Regions from separate parts of the Homo sapiens genome. Here region 1 is linked to region 2. Evidence: promoter capture Hi-C in human tissues and cell types (Jung and others, 2019). All regions are on one chromosome and are shown on one strand. Each heading gives the region's core, a stretch centred on a gene start or on the middle of the fragment in contact. The rest is flanking DNA. Distances are from core to core; before and after follow the strand shown. Region 1 has its middle 58 kb from the start of PHACTR1. Region 2 holds the start of PHACTR1 (phosphatase and actin regulator 1).

Evidence for each region. The method cuts DNA at HindIII sites, captures the fragments that hold promoters and counts their contacts. A contact is called where the count stands out against the background at its distance.
Region 1: a contact is called between a fragment that was not itself captured here and the fragment with the promoter of PHACTR1 in region 2, in 2 of the 25 tissues and cell types used here (dorsolateral prefrontal cortex and spleen).

Annotation. Positions count from the first base shown.
Region 1 is chr6:12,657,224-12,660,620 of GRCh38, forward strand. No RefSeq gene overlaps it. Among named protein-coding and RNA genes, the nearest start is that of PHACTR1, 58 kb to the right of the region's middle. The HindIII fragment of the contact is 3,182 bases long and covers 4-3,185 here.
Region 2 is chr6:12,715,408-12,718,673 of GRCh38, forward strand. It overlaps PHACTR1 (phosphatase and actin regulator 1), which reads left to right and starts at 1,360. Exons shown (of 15, transcript NM_030948.6): 1 at 1,360-1,489; 2 at 2,102-2,336. All of the region lies in intron 1 of LOC107984015 (a long non-coding RNA gene), which reads right to left. The HindIII fragment of the contact is 3,467 bases long and covers 1,012-3,266 here.

The DNA of each region.
Region 1 (3,397 bases), core at 345-2,844, 58 kb before region 2:
AGAAATGCAGAAGCTTGAATCCCACAACAGCCTTACTTTTATCAACATCCTAGGGGATCCTTTGGTGCATTAAAGCATGAGAATCACTGACTTGAGAACATCATGATCCTATCTCTCTGTGCTCTGCTGGGGTTAAATGGGAACCGTATCAAAGTTAGAGAATCACGCACATTCAATGGAAAAGACCCCACATGCCACAAAGGAATGCCCCGGGCTGAGAAGTAAATAGACTCACAGGAAGAACTCACCCACACTCCTCATCACAAACCATACCCTGGACAAATAAATGCTCTGGAACCTACAAAGCCACAATTCAGAGATGGAAACTGACTTCTCTAAAGTCACATCTAAAGGCAGTAACATTTACACACCAAATTTGGAAACCAAAGGCCATGCGATTTAAATGTTCTGCGCTGCCTCTTCAGGGTACTGATTTCCAACCTCATTTTCAAATTGACTTATATCTGAAATGGTTCATGTGCTTGAGACCTGCAGTAATTTAGCTAGAAATTTCTTTGGTTCAAAATGATCAGCTGTCAATTTTTTTTTTTTTTTTGCAGTGGTTTAGGCAACAATTTAAAAATGATCTACCATTAGTATGTAGAGAAAAGACCTCAATGTTCTTTTATTTTATTCTTAAATATTTATTTAATAAATAACAAAGATGAAATAAATAAAATGTATTTGAATTATTAGAGTGGACAGAAAATAAGCGTATTATTACATACCACTATTGTAAAGAGTGTTTTTACACGCTTTGTTAGAGCAAGAATTTAAATGTCCTTAATGAGAAAAGTGGAACTATAGCACACTGAGCCAATTATGTAATTCTACCAAATTTTCCAGGAAATAAAGCTCACAATGTTTATTTAGCAAAACATGTGATTGCCAAGACTGTACCTGCAATGTGCCATTAATAATTCAATTTGCCTAATCACTACATCTAAGGAAAACATTTTGCATTTTGGTAGAAGCTTTAACTCTTTCTTCTTTTTCTTACCTACAACATGCCAGAGGTGAGTCTGAGGCTGGTATAGATATCTCTATTTTACAAATGAAGAACTGAGTCCCACAGATCAACTGTCACCCAAAGTGATGCTGTACTGGAGGACTGATGATTCTTCCTGAACTGTGGGCTCTGATTTGTTTGACCAGAAAGGACAATACCCATTAGATAGATTACTTTACAAATTAAAAGGATTATGTAAATTTCCAACTATTTCAAAATGATATAAGCATTCGGGAAGTCATTAGTGGCATTTAAATTTGAGTTTTAAATCTAAGGTGGATGACAATCTAGAGTCTTTGCCTTTGGGAGGAAGGGCTGGGGATTGGCGGAGAAAGGCATGAGAGGGCTTCTGCAAGGATGGTAATTTCTACATGATTAGTGGGGTGGATACCTATGTGATAAAGTGAGTATAGCAAAATGTTAATGGTAGAATCTTGGTGTGTATTCAGTGTTTGCTCTAAAATTCTTTCAATTTTTCTGTATGTGTAAAATTTTCTGTATGTTATAATATCAAATATACTATACTAAATAATAAAATATTATAAAAAAAGATACATTGTTTTAAATGGAGTTTTTACCCAATATATATTAGAAAACCCTTAAGTATGCATATAAATCACCTGTGTCTGCTTAATAAACACAATGTGAATGACTGTGCCTAAAAATTATACTCAGGGGAAGCACTTAGCACCTCATTGTATTTTTCTTAGAACAATTTTTTATTTATCCAAATGGTACTCTAATTTTACTAAAATGAAAACTGAGAGTATTTGCTCTTTTCTGGATATTTGAGAAGCATATTTATTTTCAGGGCAACTGATTGTTAATGAATTCCCTTACTATCCTTAATATCAGTAACTAAATAAACATTTCTAAATTATTTTCAAACAATTATAGACTTTTTTGTTCATTTTCTTTTCAAATGATCTCACTATTCTTAAGACAATCTTCAAATAAAGCAAAGAAAAAACATTTCCTTTTTTTTTTTTTTTTTTTTTTTTTTTTTTTTTTTTTTTTTTTTGAGACAGAGTCTTACTCTGTCACCCAGGCTGGAGGGCAGTGGCGCATCTCGGCTCACTGCAACCTCTGCCTCCTGGGCTCAAGCGATTCTCTTGCCTCAGCCTCCCGAGTAGCTGTGATTACAGGCACCCGCCACCATGCCAGGCTAATTTTTTGTATTTTTAGTAGAGACAGGGTTTCGCCATGTTGCCCAGGCTGGTCTGGAACTCCTGACCTCAGGCAATCTGCCCAACTCAGCCTCCCAAAGTGCTGGGATTACAGGCCTGAGCCACCGCGCCCAGGCAACATTTCCATTTTTAGTAACGTAGCAGAACCTTGCCATCAAGCTTGCTCATATTACCTTTTTTTGGCTGCAGTGGAAAACAAGTGCTTCCTCTTTCAAAAACTCCAGTGACTGACAGCTGTCAGTGTTGGCTGAGTTACCTTGCGTTGGTTTTGTCCATTCCACTTGTCTTTTGATTTCACAGTTCAAGGAGAAGAAGGCAAAAACAAACAAACCAGCCTTAAATAAGCAGAGTAACTCTCAAAGAAAACTATTTGGGACAACCTTCTTAAAAGAATAGGTAACAGGCCAGGCGTGGTGGCTCTCGCCTGTAATGCCAGCACTTTGGGAGGCCAAGAAGGGGAGATCACTTGAGGTCAGGAGTTTGAGACCAGCCTGGCCAACACAGTGTAACCCCGCCTCTACTAAAAATACAAAAATTAGCCGGACGTGGTAGCGCACTCCTGCAATCCCAACTACTCGGGATGCTGAGGCAGGAGAATCACTTGAACCCAGGAGGCAGAGGTTGCAGTGAGCTTGCGCGCCACTGCACTCCAGCCTGGGCAATACAGCGAGATTTGGTCTCAAAAAAAAAAAAAAAAAAGAAAGAAAAATAGAATAGGTAATAATCTTTTTCAAGTAACCTTGCTAATGCAGCAGTTTCATTTTTCGAAAGGGGATTGAGGAAAGATATATGTTTTCTCTCTTTGGCTCTGGCACCCACACACATGTACAAGCTTCACTAAGGCATGTCGTCACTGTACTTCATTCTTCCTTGAAACTCTGGGCTGCCAGAACATTCGCCTTTGCTGTGTTTTTCCTGCTACAGATGATGTGAGGTGGGCTTGCCTGTTTGTTGGAGATATTAAAGCTCACTAGCAATACTTCGTTAATGTTTAGTTTCCACTTGAGGATTTTTCTGATTTTTCAAATGCTTCACCAGGCTATCTGCCTTGATGTCACCTCGCGGTGGGATCTAACCCCTGTTTTAATGACCCCTTTCTATATTGATCCTCTTCAGATGGTTTTATTGAAGTTTTAAGCAACCCAAGCTTATTTGTGAGATCCTTTACTCAACTATTGAATAGCAACCGTGGAAGATGCAT
Region 2 (3,266 bases), core at 110-2,609:
TCTTTCTTGGTCAACTCTCCAGAAATGACTGACTTCCAAATCCACCACCTACCCCCTGGGAATCAACTCTATTTTTCACATTTCCAGTTTAGCATCTCTTTCTTCAATCACACATTCATTTGCACTCACCTAAAGGTTTGGTCAGCAGCATAGACTTATACTCTCTCTCTCTCTCTTTCTCTCATCTATGAGTCATTACAATTTCAGTAGAATTACAATAACGAGTTCAGAACCTGTCGCCCACACCTCACAGTAAGTAAAAGGAACCAGAAGACAGCTTTCTCCTCTTATAAATGTCAAGTGTTCAGCATGTCTCCAGTGGGTGCTGAATAGAAAAGTAACCTTAAAGAAGTCAGTCCTTGGGTTGGAGCAAAGCTTTCAGAATTCAGAGTCCATAGTTGACTTTCCTACAAGGGCATATGATTGGTAGTTTCAGCTTCCTTTTTCATGAGGCTTAACTGTCTGCAGCACCGGCTTGGTGTCTGATCTGTTCTGATCGGGTGGGAGAGGGAGACCCCACAAAACAAACAGCAGAGGATTTTCAGGTTTGTTTCAAGGGCAGCCAGCCGAGCTGTGTATAGGGAGTGGGGGGACAGGGGTGGTGTTGATGGTCTTCCTTCCGAGGCTTATCAAATGTAAATGCTCTTTTCTTAACAAGCTGACCCACTGTACACCACACCATACTAATGAGCAATTCTGCTTGGTCAACAAAGGGTGCAAGAGGTTGTGGAAAACCCACAGTAGGGCTTGCATTTGGCTATCACTATGCCCTGCATGAAGATCTCAAAGTACTGTGCCTAAAAGTCATTACTGAGGTTTGGTAGGAAGAATATTAAACCAGAATAACTTGAGATACTAGCCAAAGTTTATTTTTGTTGTTGGTATTATTTTGTTACATTCAGACAGAGAGAAATGCATTTAGGCAGACTGGCATGATCTGCGCTGGATATTTGACCAGGCAATCAGAAGCAAGGAAAGGAAGAAAGCCAGGCAAGAGGGAAGGGGTGACATCAAACGTGCCCTCTGTATTTCGCTCCAGAAAACAGCTCACAATTATGACTACCTGCCTTGTTTTGCAGCTCAGCATAAAAGTGGTGTTGCACCAAACCCTACTGGAGCAGCCTTCATGATTAGAAAGTACTCCACACCTTGGAGAGCTGAGGAGACATGAGAATAATTTTAAATGCAAATTAAATTGAGGGGGTAGCAGAGAAGAACACATAAAAGACAGTAAAACAAAACCTTTCAATTTTCTTAAATTAGCAGTCTAATGTGTTCTAAAGAGCAGCTCCACTCAGATCTCTTCTTAAGGGTTGCATTTCATCACAGTATAAATGGGCAAATCCATCACTTCCCTCTGCTCAGTGCTCTTGAAGCGAGATTGAAGGGAAAATTAGAAGCTGTTCATTTGTGCTTGCGGGCTCAGAAGCGTCGCACTGCTTTGTTTTGTACTCTACCGTGTCCTGTTGAAAGGGGTCAACAAGTGCCGGTGAGTATCCGCTAACTTCCAGACTCTTCCTTTCAAATATCTTTTTGGCTAATTTTCCTTTGCCGGGGATGGGGGTTGTGGGGGGAGTGGGGATCTCCCACAAAATCTATGCTATAATATGTCTTTCAGAATCTGGGAAATTTCAGACAGCTTTTTAAGCTTCTTCCAGTGACTGATTTGCAGAAGGGAAGAGTTATTTTCAGCCTAGATGCCGGTGGCTGTTCTGTGTATTAATTATAACAGGGGAATGTCTAACGTATGTTAAGCTAAAATGGCCTTTCCCTAAACTCCCCCATTCCCTGCCACTCTTAGGCCAGCATTAGGGTAATAACTGGTGCCCCCACAAAAATTTCTAGACAACTTTTCTATATATTAAATTTTTAATCATTTCATATTCTATTCTTTTGTAGCTGCAAATCAAACTAAGATTTGGGATTATGAAAATAAACAATGAAGACATAAATCTGTTTTGTTTTTTTTTTAATGACTATGGCACTTCTCTGCCTAAGAGATAGGGGGCTGGGGAATAGCCCTGCATGATGTATGCATGTGGATTTGATGATTTTCTGCCAAAGTTTTACACGGGAAACTGGTAATTTTCTCCCTTCGCAGGGGAGGGTGCAGAGGCTGAGGCTGGCGTCACCTTCCGTTGCTAAGGTAACGTGCTCTGGCCATTTTATCTGATAAAGGAAGTCCAGTGGACTGTATGCATTATTCATCACTGTTCTAATCAAACAATCAAAATCGTTTACTTTCACCGGGAATATTTAGCAAGATCAAAGACACTCTGGCTGGAACGGCTCTTGTTTTACCGCTGACAGATAGCCTTTGATTTTTATTTTTTGCAGTAAGTATATTTGCTATTGGGGTACCTTTGGGTATTTTTAAAAGTTTTGTCTTACCGGACTTGGTTTCTTAAATTAAAATACATACTGTTAGAAAGAGAAACCAATTGGATTAGACTTCCAAGCTTGGTTTTAATGACTTTGTCTTGTTAATTCTTTCCAAAAAAATATTCTGCAGAAATAGAGATAATTCATTTGTGTGAGTATCAGGGAAAGGCTACATAGGCTTGAAAAAAGAACCCAACAGGCTGAATGTTTTCTGGGGAAGTATATTAGCTTTGTGACAGGCTAGTGTATGATAATATAGGGATCACTGTAATGCTGCAATCATTCTTGCTGCTCTACAAACCACAATTGTTTCTCAAAAATCAGCCCCTGCCAGGCACAGGCAGGTGACGATCCTCTAGCACTTTATAAAATGTGCTGAAGGGAATCGCCGGAAAGGAAGGAATTCAAAGCATTTGTACAGCAAATATGTCAGTGTGTGTCATAAACGCACGGCATCTATGAGTGGAGGCTCGGATTCCCAGGCAATTTTCCCTGCTCCAGGGGAATCCGAAAGTCCCAGGATGAGCTGAGGATCAACACTCACAACGGCTGACACTTAATGACGCTATTTATCAAATAGACCTTTTGAAAACTGATAGCATGTGAATTTAACAGTATATGTTCCAGAGAATATAAAGCAAGGAAAGGCTGGTATGTTATCTCTCTTTAGATCAGATCATCTGTTTTTCCTGAGTAGAATATATTACTTTTAATGAATGTTGGCTAAATGCGGCATTTTCTCACACGGTAGGAAAGCTATGCTGGGGGGTGGCTTTAGAATTGCAAATGTCAATCAAGTAGTAGAATATTATAATGGGATATTCTTATTCAAACATTTTAAAGTACATCTATATATACACTTTATACTTGACGTCTAAAATATT